5 separate regions of the Homo sapiens genome follow, and regions 1, 3, 4 and 5 are each linked to region 2. Evidence: promoter capture Hi-C in 16 types of primary human blood cells and fetal thymus (Javierre and others, 2016). All regions are on one chromosome and are shown on one strand. The core of a region is centred on a gene start or on the middle of the fragment in contact, and the rest is flanking DNA. Distances in the headings are between cores, read along the strand shown.

The links. The method cuts DNA at HindIII sites, captures the fragments that hold promoters and counts their contacts. A CHiCAGO score of 5 or more calls a contact.
Region 1: a fragment that was not itself captured here is called in contact with the fragment with the promoter of ADAMTS15 in region 2 in 1 of 17 cell types (endothelial precursors); the score reaches 5.2 in endothelial precursors.
Region 3: a fragment that was not itself captured here is called in contact with the fragment with the promoter of ADAMTS15 in region 2 in 1 of 17 cell types (endothelial precursors); the score reaches 6.5 in endothelial precursors.
Region 4: a fragment that was not itself captured here is called in contact with the fragment with the promoter of ADAMTS15 in region 2 in 15 of 17 cell types (naive B cells, total B cells, fetal thymus and 12 more); the score reaches 13.4 in naive B cells.
Region 5: a contact is called between a fragment that was not itself captured here and the fragment with the promoter of ADAMTS15 in region 2, in 4 of 17 cell types (total B cells, naive CD8 T cells, total CD4 T cells and 1 more). The highest score is 9.8, in total B cells.

The regions. Positions count from the first base shown.
Region 1 is chr11:130,814,144-130,816,843 of GRCh38, reverse strand. No RefSeq gene overlaps it. Among named protein-coding and RNA genes, the nearest start is that of LINC02551, 47 kb to the left of the region's middle. The HindIII fragment of the contact is 7,529 bases long and covers 1-2,700 here.
Region 2 is chr11:130,447,216-130,449,915 of GRCh38, reverse strand. It overlaps ADAMTS15 (ADAM metallopeptidase with thrombospondin type 1 motif 15), which reads right to left and starts at 1,271. Exons shown (of 8, transcript NM_139055.4): 1 at 1-1,271. The coding sequence starts at 942. The HindIII fragment of the contact is 10,038 bases long and covers 1-2,700 here.
Region 3 is chr11:130,768,402-130,771,101 of GRCh38, reverse strand. No RefSeq gene overlaps it. Among named protein-coding and RNA genes, the nearest start is that of LINC02551, 92 kb to the left of the region's middle. The HindIII fragment of the contact is 4,264 bases long and covers 1-2,700 here.
Region 4 is chr11:130,881,417-130,884,116 of GRCh38, reverse strand. All of the region lies in intron 8 of SNX19 (sorting nexin 19), which reads left to right. Among named protein-coding and RNA genes, the nearest start is that of LINC02551, 21 kb to the right of the region's middle. The HindIII fragment of the contact is 3,697 bases long and covers 1-2,700 here.
Region 5 is chr11:130,948,636-130,951,335 of GRCh38, reverse strand. No RefSeq gene overlaps it. Among named protein-coding and RNA genes, the nearest start is that of SNX19, 34 kb to the right of the region's middle. The HindIII fragment of the contact is 221 bases long and covers 1,288-1,508 here.

The sequences.
Region 1 (2,700 bases), core at 142-2,641, 370 kb before region 2:
AAATTGCAGCCAGCAAGGTGTGGATTCCTAGCATTCAGATCTCGGTTATTATCGATGCAAGGGCAAGCGATGGGTTATTTATTAACTGTGTGAATAAATGCCTGTAAGTGTATTCACTGCAGAACTCCAGTACATAGAAGTGCTTTCTGGTAACGGAGTTTGCAGTGCCTGCTAATCCCTCCTGGAAAGTCTTTTCGTCCCTGAATTACGATCTCAGCCCATGTTGCCTCACACTGCCTCTCTGTTATTAAAATTCCTTTCTACACAATTCATAGGAACATAAATCCTTCCTTTAAAGTCTAACCAATAATACTTCCAGAAAATTAGATTCTCCGTTTAAAAAATTGACACTTAAAAACAATGTGCCTCCTTCCAGTCCTTCCCTCTTTCTGGAAATCTTAGGACAGGTAGAAACATGGGGGTGGATGAAATGACCTTCAGGAGCCCATCTCATGGCCACACCTGTAATCTACTCTTTGTGCTTCTTTCTTTGCTATCACTAGTCTTCTAGTCATATGACCTGGCATTATGACTTAAAATGTGATTCAAATGCTGCGTAAATATGGCCAAAATGTTTGTTTTCCTCAGTGATGGAAGTAGGATTAAGCAGGCAGGGAGCAGCGCTCCAGGGTCCACCCGCACAGGAGCCAGCAACAGACCTCACCAGACAAGTCCCCAGAGTGAATTGCTCCAGTTCCCACCACGGGCTTTCTCCGCCTGACTTATCCAAAAGGCCGAGAAGCAATCCCATCTCAGGCTTTCTCACCAGGTTGGCTTGTTTTTGTTTTTGTTTTTTTCCAAAGCACGTGTAGCTAAGTCATATCAAGGCAAACTTAGGTCAAGATGACAAGCACCTATGCCCTCAGAATGTCACACCCTCCTGCTCACTGCCATGGGGCGGGGGGCGGGTGGGTGATGTAAGGCTCAGGGAGAAACTTGCTCTGCCCCTCACTCAGGGCCAGGTACCTACAGCTTCGGGGGTCCATGTAAGGAAGGCGCAGGTCCTCTGAAAAATGCCACTGATTGGAGAGGATGACCTCAAATGTTCTGCAGAGACTCTGCTCTAGTCCCTTATAGTCATTAGATTTCAGAAAACTTTTAAGATGCTTGAGCTAAGATGTCATTTTAGAAGACTTATAGATCATTAACAAGCTAGGCATATATGCATGGAGGAGGGAGGGTGATCATGAGAAGCAACAGTAGCTAATCATCACCTCACAGTGGAAAATTTTTTACAATCCTATTAGTGGACTTGGAATCGCAAGAACGCTCCATGCCCAGATTAGCTCTGGGGCCGAGGGTCATTGTCCAGATACATGGGGCACTGGAGCAGCTGAGAAAGCCTCCGAGCATCTGGACAGCCCACTAGGATTCAGCCTTCCCACGCCGGGGACATGCTGCACACTGCACTGGGAGCTGGAAAAAGGACCCATTGAAGTTTCCGGCAGAGTCTAAGCCTGATGGGCCCTCCTTTCTAGGCACATCACACATTCTCCCTCCCCGAGAGAGAATTTGATTGGTTTATGTCATTACTTCCTTGTTGTTCCTGTTGAGCAAAATTTGTTTCTTGACCCAACTATGACCCAGACAATAGGGTTGGCCTCACTGACTCTCTTCCCCGCATATCCACTGTCAGCAAAAAAAACTGCCCAGGCCACTTTCCTGTGGGGGCATCCAAGAGTGGGACAGGTCCTTGGTGCTTCATGGATTCTCTCTCTAGAGCAGAGTCCAGTTTAAGATCTTCTGCACTGAAGTCCTCACTCCTAACCTGAGCTGCTCTTATCCTCAGCCAATACTCTGCAGCCCTAGTCTGGAAGAACAGAGCCCATTTGTAACAGAGGAAGAACCTTCTTGCATTTCCCCGCACAGCCTGATAGCAATTTAGCTTCACAAGGCCCTGAAGGGGTTGAGCCGCCCCTCCTGTTAAGGAAAGCCAGCAAATCCATACAGATGTTTTTCTGAGTGCTGTTCTGACCAGGGCTCAGGGATTAGCCTTGCCTGGTATCACATAGCATGGGGAGGTTAGGGAATTCTCTTTGTGGATCAGGAGGTATATTACATGAAATCAAAATGTAAATGTGTTCTTTTTGGATAAGGCAATGTTTTCCCTTCTATTTTTATTTATATAACCTTATCACTTAGTCTTCCTTACTTCTTTCCCTCTGCCTTCCTTGGCGCTGAGCCCACCCTGATTCTGCAGGATAGACTCAGCTAACTGGGCAGCTTTAAGTGGTATGGTTTCTAACCACTCTCCCTCTAACCGCATCTGATAAATCTCATTAAGGGGCTTTACTAGCCTCATTTTCTTATCCAATGCAGAAAATCTACTCCACCAAGATTTTCAGATGTTAAGAGATGTGACTTACAACCCAAGAGGCCAGAGAGAGTAGGGTGCCAATAGGATACATAGATTAGGTAGACAGACAGATAAATCAGATAGCTAGATGATAGATAGATAGATAGATAGATAGATAGATAGATAGATAGATAGATAGATAGACAGATAAATAGATAGATGATTTATCAGGGGACTGGCTTTTATGATTATATAGGCTGAGAAGTCCTACCATAAGCTGTCTGCATGCTGGAGAACCAGGGAGTCCTGTGGCATGGTTTAGTCCAAGTCCAAGGCCTCAGAACCAGGGAAGCGAATGTTATTACTCTCAGGTTGAAGGCCTGAGGACACAAATGGCTGCTAAT
Region 2 (2,700 bases), core at 22-2,521:
GATGGCAGTGTCCCAGTACTCGGGGTGCTTGTCACTCACTTTGTTCAGCTTCTTCTGCCAGGCACAGAAGTTGCGCAGCGTCAGGGCCGCATTGCCGGTGACCTTGGGCCCGGAGTCACGATCTCTAAGAAGCAGCACCTTGACCACAACGATGTTGATGGGGTTGAGGATGCTGGGATGGCGGTAGAGTCGCGCCGCCGTTGCCAGCAGCGTCAGCAGATAATGTTCCAGGTCCGCGCCGTGGAACTTGACCATTGACTCGTCCGCGACCACCAGCGTCTCCACGTACCGCGGGATAGACACGAAACGCTTGGCGCGCCCAGACCTGCGCCGGCTACGACTCTCCCCGAAGCCCGCCCGCCGCGGCTTGTAAGGGTCCAGGGCCCGTAGGATGGCGGGGTTCCAGCCCGAGGCCACCCCGCAGCGAGAGGTGGGGTCTCCGGAAGGCCCGCCCGGAACACCCCGGCGCTGGAGAAGGTGTGCGCCCTGGCTGTTGCGCTGCGCCGCCGGCGCGCTAGCATTGGGCAGCGGGCTAATGACATACTCGGCGCCTCGGTAGCCAAAGGCTCCGCGGAGCCCCCCGCACAGGCTCACAGCAGCGAACGAGTCCGGCTCGGCGTTCACGTCCCCAGAATAGAAGCAGCGTCGCAGGTCTGAAGAGCCCCCGGTGAGCCCCTGGAGGGGGACGCCCAGATGCTCAGTGGAGAAGGCGGGAGCCAAGAACTGAGCATCCGGCGTCAGGTGTAGGTAAAAGTCCTCCTGAAATGCTGTGATCTGAAAAATGAGTCCCTGATCCCCGGAGTCCTCGGGACCCCGCCAGTAGTAGCGGCGGCCGTTAATGTCCGGGTCCAGTCGGATGGGAACGACTACCTCCCGCTCTGGCTCAGAGCCTCCAGCGGTTCGCCCGGCGAAAGCCAGGGTTAGGATGCCCAGCAGAAGCATGGCGCCGGGCAGCGCACCGCCGCGCTGTGGGAAGGGGCTGGGCCGGGCTCTCCGGCCGCTGCCGCGGTCTCCGTGCAGCCCGCACTCTGGAACCGCCAACGCTACGGGACAGCCGGCAGTTCCCAGAAAGGAGAGCCAAGGGAGGGAGACTCCTCCCAGGGCGGCGAGCGTGCACCCGGCAGCCCGCGCTTCCTACCTGTGCCTTTCCAAGCAAAGCGCGCCCTGGGAGCTTAAGTACAATCGCTGTCAAGTGCAAGGACGAAGATTTGCAGCCGAGAACTAGCGGAAGGTGCCGGGCGGCTTCTCGCAACCGCAGCCACTCGCAGCGCAGCAAGCCAGGCGCTGGGCGAGCCTATTAAAGGCCCCCTCCTCTTTGGACGGCCCAGTCAGCGCCCCTCCCCTCACTCCCCTCCCAGCCTCCCAGAGCTCGCTGCCGGAGCCTCCAGGGGCCACCGGAGAACTCGGTCCCGCCTCCAGAGCGGAGAGCCACTTGGCGGGGAGGGAGTGGCATTGAGCTGAGGCAGGAGGCGTGGGCTGGCCCGAGAAACCGGCGCTGAAGTCTCAGTTTGCGTTTTGCTCTTGGTTATGCCCCACTGTCCCGACGCCTCACTCGCTTCTGCCCCCGCGGACAGCGTTCACTCTCTGGGTCTTAGTCTTTTATCTCAGGGCAGATCAGGTCAGCAGCTAGGAATGAAGACCCTTCACTGACCCGTCCCCAGGCCCACCTCATCCCTGCTGTTGCAACATCCCTGCTGTTTCTTAATCACAGAGTCCCCTAAAAGACCCAGAATCAAGAACCACCCCCCCCCCCGCGTAAATGTCCTATTGCCAGAAGAGCAATAGGACAGGGGCATGGGAGCCCTCTGGAACCCAAGACCGCCTAGCCCCAAGGTCTGCCCTGGGCCCATGGTGTGCTGGATGGGCTGGGGCAAACTCTTCAGTTCTCAGGAATCTTGCCAGCCAGCTGTTAATCACGGACATTATTAAAAATTAAACTAAACACACTTACAATTAAACAAAGTGTATATATATATATGCACACACACACACATACATATATATACACATACATATATATATATACATACACACACACACACACACACACACATATATATATATATTTTTTTTTTTTTGAGACGGAGTTTTGCTCTTGTTGCCCAGGCTGGAGTGCAATGACGCGATCTCAGCTCACCGCAAACTCCGCCTTCCGGGTTCAAGCCATTCTCCTGTCTCAGCCTCCCAAGTAGCTGGAATTACAGGCATGCACCACCACGCCCAGCTAATTTTGTATTTTTAGTAAAGACAGGGTTTCTCCATGTTGGTCAGGCTGGTCTCGAACTACCGACCTCGGGTGATCCTCCTACCTTGGTTTCCTACCTCCTACCTTGGTCTCCTGAGTAACTGCGACCACAGACACACGACACCACGCTAGGCCAATTTGTGTGTGTGTGTGTGTGTGTGTGTGTGTGTGTGTGTGTGTGTGTGTATTTTTGGTAGAGACTGGGTTTCGCCGTGTTGCCCAGGCTGGTCTTGAACTCCTGAGCTCAAGCAATCCACCCACCTCGGCCTCCCGGTGCGGGGACTACAGGCGTGAGCCACCATGCCTAGCCACAAAGTACATTTTTAAAAGGTAATAAATACTCAAAACCCGTCGCTTCCTAAGTATTTGATAATTACTTATGGTCTTGAGCCACCAGAACCGCCAACCCTCTGAGACAGCAACTCCCAGAAAAGAGTGCAGAATGGGGTGGAAAT
Region 3 (2,700 bases), core at 122-2,621, 320 kb before region 2:
AATGCTGTTCAAACGTCAGTAACAAGGCAGCATGTTAGTGCCACCCCTATTCCCTGTGGACGGCTCGAGAGTTTGTTTCTTATGACATAAGAAGGCTCACTGGCAGCGTGGGGAGAAACATGAAACCCAATTCTGTTAAAAGGTCTCTGTCTTCTGAGCAGGTACTAAGGGTCAGAAACAAATGAAGAATTCTCTGATATTTGGTGACAACAGGCGTCTCCACTGCAGGGGTCTGGGAGTGAATTATTGGAGCATGGTTCAATTTGATATTCATGCACTGCTTAGTACACTGCCTGGCACACAGTAAGTCATCAATAATGCTTGTGGAATGAATGAATGAATGAATGAATGAAGTCCTCTCTCCTCTGTCATGTGGCCATATTCCTTAGACATTTCCGTGTGCCTTATCCATGTGAGGATTCAGTCCTCACGGAACTCATCACTGGCCACATCTTCCCAGCAATGAGTTCTATGAGGATTGCACCCTCACTTTGGGTGTGATCTCCCTGTAATGCTGTCTTGAGAGCATGTGATGGAAATCCCTTTAAAAAAGAAAGGACTTTCCTTTCTTACCCCCAAACACCATTCCCCTGAATACAGCTTTCTACTACAGAGGATTCCAGACTTGCTTCTCATCCCTCTGCAGGGGTCGCTGGCCTCTCTATGCACTCCACCATCTAGACTGTGAGCTTCTTAAGACAGAAAACAAACAGCTTATTTACCCCTCACCTCTAGAGCTCAGCACACTGAGGGCATCCAATACACAGCAACTGACGATGAGCTTATTCCAGGGAAAGTGGAATGTGAGTGGGAGGAGGACTGCAACCAGGTTGCTCAGTCTATCTAATGACATCCATTACAAAACCTCAGAGTTCCTTGGGAATAAGCTGCATTTCCCGGAGATGGGCAATGTGGAAAGATGGCAACAGCTTCTGGCTGAGCAGGTATGTGGAAGATGGTTCTCATTTGCTTAGTAGGGACAGTGCAGCACAGTGATTGCGTGTGGCCTATAGAGCCAGACTACCTGAGTTACGCCCTGGCTTTCCCCTCATTAATTTTATGACCTTAGAGAGGCCATTTAATCTCATGTTCCTTGATTTTATCTGTAAATGGGGCAGTAATCACAGAGAAGAATAAACAAGTTCATACAGGTAAAGGACTTAGATCATGGCCTGGCACACGCTAAGTTTGTGAGAAATATTCGCTAGTATGATTCTCTTTGTGCAGGAAGGAAGTGGGGATCGCTTACCCTGGAAGGAGACTACTTTAGATCTGAAGGACAATGTTTTCAGTTGAACTACTGAGCCTCATCCATTTTTGGGCTTCTGTCCGTTATCTAAGAGGTCTCCCTGTCCCCAGCCTTGCTCTTTCTGACACCTGCTTCACCGTGTCTCCAGGATCACCTTTCCAGCATGCAGGTCTGACCGCAGCACTGTCTTCTTGAAAGTCCACAGGACGCACTCTCAGCTCCCAGCTCGGTGCTCAGTGCCCTGCCGGGTGTGATCTTGGCCATGGCTCCTGTTTCACCTCCTGCAACTTTCCACCTCTCCCTCCCAATGGGCTCCAGGAGCACGCGGAGTTTTGAGCTTCCTCCCACACATGATGGTCTTGCACCTCACAAAAGCACTGCTCCTGCTGTCAGGAACGGCTCCTTCTCCACTGCAACCCCCTCTTCACTCTCACCCTCACCCTGACCCTGCTATGTGAACAGCGGGCTTCTGCTTTTCCTTCAGAGCACACTTGAGGAATGGTGAAGCTGTCTTAGATGCTGTTAGAGCTGAATCGTGTTCCCCAGAATTCGTGTATTTGATTCCTAACCCCCAGCACCCCAGAATGTGACTATACTTGGAGACAGGGCCTTTAAAGAGGAAATGAAGTTAAAATGTGGCCGTTGGTTTGGGCCCTGATCCATTCCGGCTGGTGTCCTCATAAAAAGAGGAAACTTTGACACGTGAAGAGACACCAGGATACAGGCACAGAGGGAAGGCCGCATGCAGACACTGAAGGAGGTGGCCGTCTGTAAGCCAGAGGGCCTCAGAGGAAACCAGCCCTGCCAGCACTCTCGTCTTCGACCTCCAGCCTCCAGAACTCTAAGGAAATAAATTTCTGTTCCTTAGGCCACCTGGTCTGCGGTATTTTGTTATGGTAGCAGAGCAAATTCATACAGATGCCCATAGAATAGCCTTGATTTAGGTGTTCCCTATAAGACAGACATAAGCTGTCTGTGACATTGGCAGCTCCTATTAGGCGGGGCTCAGGGACTCTCCTTATTCTTCACTCTAAGTCCTACACAACTGCTGGAAACATGTGTTAATAAACATCACAGTCAAGAACTTCTCAGTGAGCACGTGGGCACACGGGTATCCTTGGTGTCTGGGGATACATCCTACTTCGAGACTGTTTTATTTTTTAAATGTATGTAAATGTTTGATTCTACTCTATAGAATGTTTTGCTATAAAAATGCTTTGAATTTCAAGTTACTGGTCAAAATTACTTAACTTTTACAAGCCCAACCTTGGAGTGAAACTGGTTAAGGACATGTACCGTGGTATCTGATGGTTTTTCCTGCCTCCTATGTGTGGACATGCTCTGAGAGTTCCGGGACAAGCAGTCGCAGTAGGCAGGAAATATGTAGGATATTCCAGGAACTGTTTTATGGAGAACATAGAGCAGAGGGAGCTAAAGACACCCAGAGACCA
Region 4 (2,700 bases), core at 192-2,691, 430 kb before region 2:
GAAAGGGAGAGGAAAGATATTTGGATGAAGAAATCTCCACCTTCTTCATTGCTCTCAAGAACCAGTGGCAGTTGGTTCCATCCAGGTGTTGGGCAAGGCAAAGTATACCAAATCCCTGAATATACAGCCATTTACAACTTAAGAAAGGCATAGTGAGTGATAATAAAGTGTGTCTTAGAAATTGAATTACAGCTTAAAAAATTTAGAGATTGTATTGTGTGAGGGCAGTGGCAGTTGTGGTGGTGATTTTTTTGGTTTGCTCTTTATCATGTTTTCCTTCCAGATTGGCGTGCTCATCATTTTTAACGAGACACCATCGCTCAGAAGTTCTGTGAACAAGAAAGATTTGTTGCACTTGGTCTTCTACACAGGCTGCCTGGGACTAGGAAATAAGACCATGCTGAGCCCAAAGGCCTAGGATAAAGCCTCTGTTTGCTGACAGGGGGAAGGGTGGGCAGAACGTAGGCAAGAGGAGAATCCAGGAAAGAGAGCAAATGTTTAAACCATGCGTGGTGCAAGTGTGTGGTTTGTGTCTTTTATCTTCAGAGTGTGGAGAAGAATAAGGAAAGCTGGCACTCTGCAGCTCCCAGGGACTAGAAGTCACTTTCCAAACTCTGTCCCTCTTTGTAGGCCTGGAGGGAGTTTATTTCTGCCAGTTTGTGAAAGTCCTGTTTCTTATATTCCTGGGCCTGACTTTTTCCAGGGCCTCCTGTTGGCCAGTTCTGTGCCTTGTATGTACAGTGCTTGACAGTGTCTTTGTCTCATCAGCAGCTGATACTTACTCAGAGATGGCACTCCTTTTCTTCGGTGAGTTGTGCTTATTAGCTTCCACAAATTTATTTGACTCATAGACTCATCTTCATCATCAGGTGCTTATTTTTACTTTTCCTACTTTTATGTCTCTCCCCAACATTTCCATTTAGAGTCTGAAAAGCTGTCTTATAGATTTGTATAAGTTTATAAATTTATATTTTGCCACATGATAAAATTCATTTTGCATCCCACACATGTACATGAGACACTTAATCACCATGCAAGAGAACAAGGAGGATATCCTTGTCCTAATGCCATGTGAGGTCCTGTCCCCATCAGATAAATTAATGTTCATTCAAAAGAATGTAACTCTTGCTTTGTAAGACATGCCAGAAGATGGCTGAGGTACCTAGGCTTGCTGGCATGTTACAACATGTTCAGTCTAGGAAGGATCATGTGGCTAAAGATTTTAGTTTGCAAGACTTTGCCCCTCTCCCTCAAGACAGTTAGATGAGACCCTAAGACACATCATTCTCCTCAGCAAAAATTGCAGAAGTATACATGGCTTGAGGTGAAGAAAGGAGACCTTGGGTCACTTAATCCCCTGCAGAGAAGCCGATCAGGTCATTGCAGCCACCTCCCTCTAGTGACCCTCTTACATAAACAGGAACAGGAATTCTTGCTACTGGATTCCTTTCATCAGGCATCTTAGGCTCACTGAATGAAAAGCCCTATAAAAAGGAGATGCGGCCCTAATAATAACAAATACGATCGTGTTGGCTATTTTGGACAAGAACAGCTTTGTGCCACTCTTGATCTCCATCGATGGCTGCCATTCTTGCCCTGCTATTACCTTACACACTTCCTATTCTTAGAATCAGTTGTGAGCCTTGGGCTTGGGGGATTGCAGCCCTCATGGCTGGAATGCCCAGCTTGAGTGGAATGCAGACTGTCTGGCAGAGTGGAGGTTAAATAAAGTTTGCCTTGGCAGCCCCCTCTGCTCTTGGATGAGTGACAAGTGACTCGAGTATAGGAGCGAGGAGTGATGGCATGAGCTGCCATGTGGTGCAGGATCAAACGAGTCTTCCGTGCATGAATAGAAGTGGTTGATTGTCCATCCATGACCCACACAGCTATGTCAGTCTTAAATGAGGTGGGTGAAGGGGAGGCCTCAACAGCCTTGAACCTCACTTCTGACCATATCACTTTGAAAAAAATTCAGGAACAGATCAAGAATAACGTTGAACCACTTTCTAGGTTTCCAGCTGAACTCCAGATTTGGTATATCTTCCCCCTCATTTTTGACTCATTTTTGAAAGTAAGATAAAGGGAAAATTTTGACTCATTTTCGAAAGTAAGACAAAGGGAAAATTTTTCATTGAAATAAGAACAGTTATCAGTCAGTCAACCATTTCTTGAGCACCAAGCACGGCGGGGAGTTTTTTTAAAGTACAAGACACAGAACTCTTACAGCTTATAATTTAGTTGAAGAAGTAAAGCTATAAACACCTTTAAAAAGATGCATATTCCAAAGTAATTGTTCCAGAGCTACCTGCCAAAGGAGGTCTATGGAGAAGGAGAGCACTTCCAGCTGTGATGGTCAAGGATTTCATGGAGGAAGTAGGGTTGAAACAGGTCTTGCCAGAAGGGCAGACTTGAGACTTGCTCTTCAGGCAAGGCGAGAAGAGGCCCTTGTTAGTGAGAGAACTATTATGAACAAAGGGCAGATGTAGGAAATCCCTAAGACAGTCATGAGGACCAGAAGATATGGCTGGGGAGGTAGAGAGAGGAATTTGTTTAAAGATCGCTAAGTCCGTAGCTGTGAAGTCTGTGTGTACATGTTACCAAGAAGGTTATAATGCTTCCCATCAGAGGAGAGCTAGAAAGATAATAGGTGCAGCCTTGCCAGAGGAGAGTTGGGAAGGTATAGGTGCAGGCTCACCCAGA
Region 5 (2,700 bases), core at 149-2,648, 500 kb before region 2:
GGGACTAAGGTGAGCTGACCTAAGAAACAGCTTTTGTTAGGCAAAATGGGCACACCCACAATCCTCTGATAGTGTTGTTTTTGGAATCCCAAGCCTGCAAAAGACTTCTCTCAAGTCTTCTGGAAGAGGGGGGCTCCAGAATCCCTAAGCTATGTTGTGCTGGCCTGGTCAGGGCCAAATTCCAGCTCCAACTTAGATTTTGGGCCCCAAGTTCTCTCTCTCTTCCTCAACCTCAAGACCAGCTCTCATAGTGCATAATTTGAAAGTGGCCAAATACCTACAACTGTCACACATAAGGCTGTGCTGACCACCACACATTCTATATTGAGGATTCCTGCCAGAAATCAGGTAATGAAAGGCAAATGATATTAAAGAAACATGAAGAAGAATCCCGTGATTTCCACATGGACAATGCAAGTGCTCAGCGGACACTTTCATCAGGACTTTATAAATCAGTCATCAGTATGAAGTCAGCAGACTTCGTGGGATGGCAAGTTATCATTCATGAAGTCTGTTAGATGCGCAGGCCTCTGACAGGTTAGAGAAGACAAGGTGAGATGGTGGGAAGATCAAGGACTATACAAGCAGGAAGGGATGGTGTATAGAAGACGAGCAGCTGCATCCCACTTCCTCCGAAGACAACATCAGAAGGTTCAGGCTGACTTTGCAACAGGAGTGGTCGGGTGAGTCCAGCCCAGCAACCCCACAAGCCTGCAGCTCCCATGTGCCTTGCTATGTTCACAGCTTCATTGGCTGCCACGCTCAATGCATCTCTCCTTGCAGTGAATCATGCTGGCAGGGGGATGAGAGGCATCCAGTACCAAGGATGTCAAGGAGAAATCTGCAATTTTCATATGAACAGTTTCCAGGGCTCTGGTGAAAGCATCCTCCAGATCCCATGAGTCCGTCCCAGCATGGATGGTTCCTCTTTGGAGATGCCCAGTCCCTGGTGGGCAGGGCTCAGTTGGAAGGTGCCTCAGCTCAACCCATCAGGATGATCAGTTCTCATGCATCCTCCACCACCGACCAGCCCTGCTCTACCTGAGAACTCCATGCTTAGGCCGTAATAACCAGCTGTCAGAGTGGATTTTATACTGGCTATAAATTAATCTGTTTTAATTGGTTTTATTCCCAGTCAAATATGGAGAATGGGGCAGGGATGGATTCCAGAAGGATTTCAGAAAAGCATTTTATTTCATTGTATCACAGCATCTACAAGAGTTACAGTAAAATAAAACTCAGATGCCCCCCTCCCTCAAACCCGCCTGTATCTCAGAGTAATAAGCTTTCCATTTCAGTGGGGAATGAAGCTATTTGTCAGTTCCAATGTCAAGAATGAATACAATTCGAATTCTCTAGCCATTTATTTCAACAATTCTCTATTCTTCAGCTAAAATAACTTAACATAAGAAATAGCTGTTCACTCAATGTAAAACTTGCAAACCTGGTTCCACAAGGCATATTTCTAAAAAAATAATGAATCTGGAGGGGCTGTTGGAAAAGAAGCTTCATCCATCTTGGTACAATGGTAATGCCCAAGCCCACTGGAGCACTTTCCTCCAGCAGCCTAGACTCAGGAGCAGCATCCCCACAGGCTGATCTTCTCGCTTCACTCTTCATTACCATCATTATAATTGCTACCATCTCCTCATAAACATTCACGATCCATCATCTTTCCTCTTTAAACCTGATGTTTTCATGACACCCAAATGGCCCTGAATGTGAAACTTTCAATGACTGAGACATCGAGAAAAATTAGAAATCATGATAAAATTTTTCATTTTACCCCTGACAAGTCCCTGTTGTAGACAGCTGCAGAAGACAACCCCAAGCTGCAGTCTGTAGCTGGAATTGGCTTTGCATGAATGCTGGAGGGGATGGAGACCCCTGGGAAACCTGTTGACATCAGCCCGAGCCTTCCATCTTCAATGTCTGTCCTGGGGCTGAACACAAAACCTCAAGGTTCAGTAGTATTTTGCCTTCTTCACCAAAGGTTCCTCCCATCATTTCCTGTCCCATTTCCTCCCTACCAAGGGAGAATTTATACATGTCAAAAGTCCCAAAGGCCTGAAAAATGTTGCCCAGTAAAAGCCCAAATGTTGAGCTTCTCATTAAAAATAACAAACATGTATATATTATGCAGCACTTACTGTGTATCAAACTCTATCATGCAGGTAAACATAAAATATTTTACATCTATTAACTTGGGTTAGCCCTTATAACAATCCTAGGAAGTAAACGCTGTCAGTGTTCCCATATGAGGAAACTGAAGCACAGAAAGTTTCGCTGGCCTGTCTGAAGGCACACAGTTTGCAAATCGTGGCCCTGGAATTGAATCTTGAGAACCTGCTCCAGAGTTTGTGCTCTTAACCACCACACTAAAAGTCCTCCCTCAAAATTGCATATTACTGAAATTTCTAAAGAATATTTTCTGAGAACTGGGTGTTCCTGGCAATGGTTTCAGTGAGTTTCTGCCTAAAGTTAGGAAATAATAAATTCACAAGACCTCTTCCAGCTTTAGTATACCTATACATGTTTAAAGCTGTTTTCCAAATACTACAAAGGAATAAAAGAATCATCTTTTTTTCTAGTATGCTTGTGTTCTTTAATTCCCTTCAGGTAAAATTAGGGAGGAACAAGCGGGACCAAGAGGGCTAAAGGCCGATGCAGAAGAAAGAGGCAGAAAGGGAAGGAAGGCAT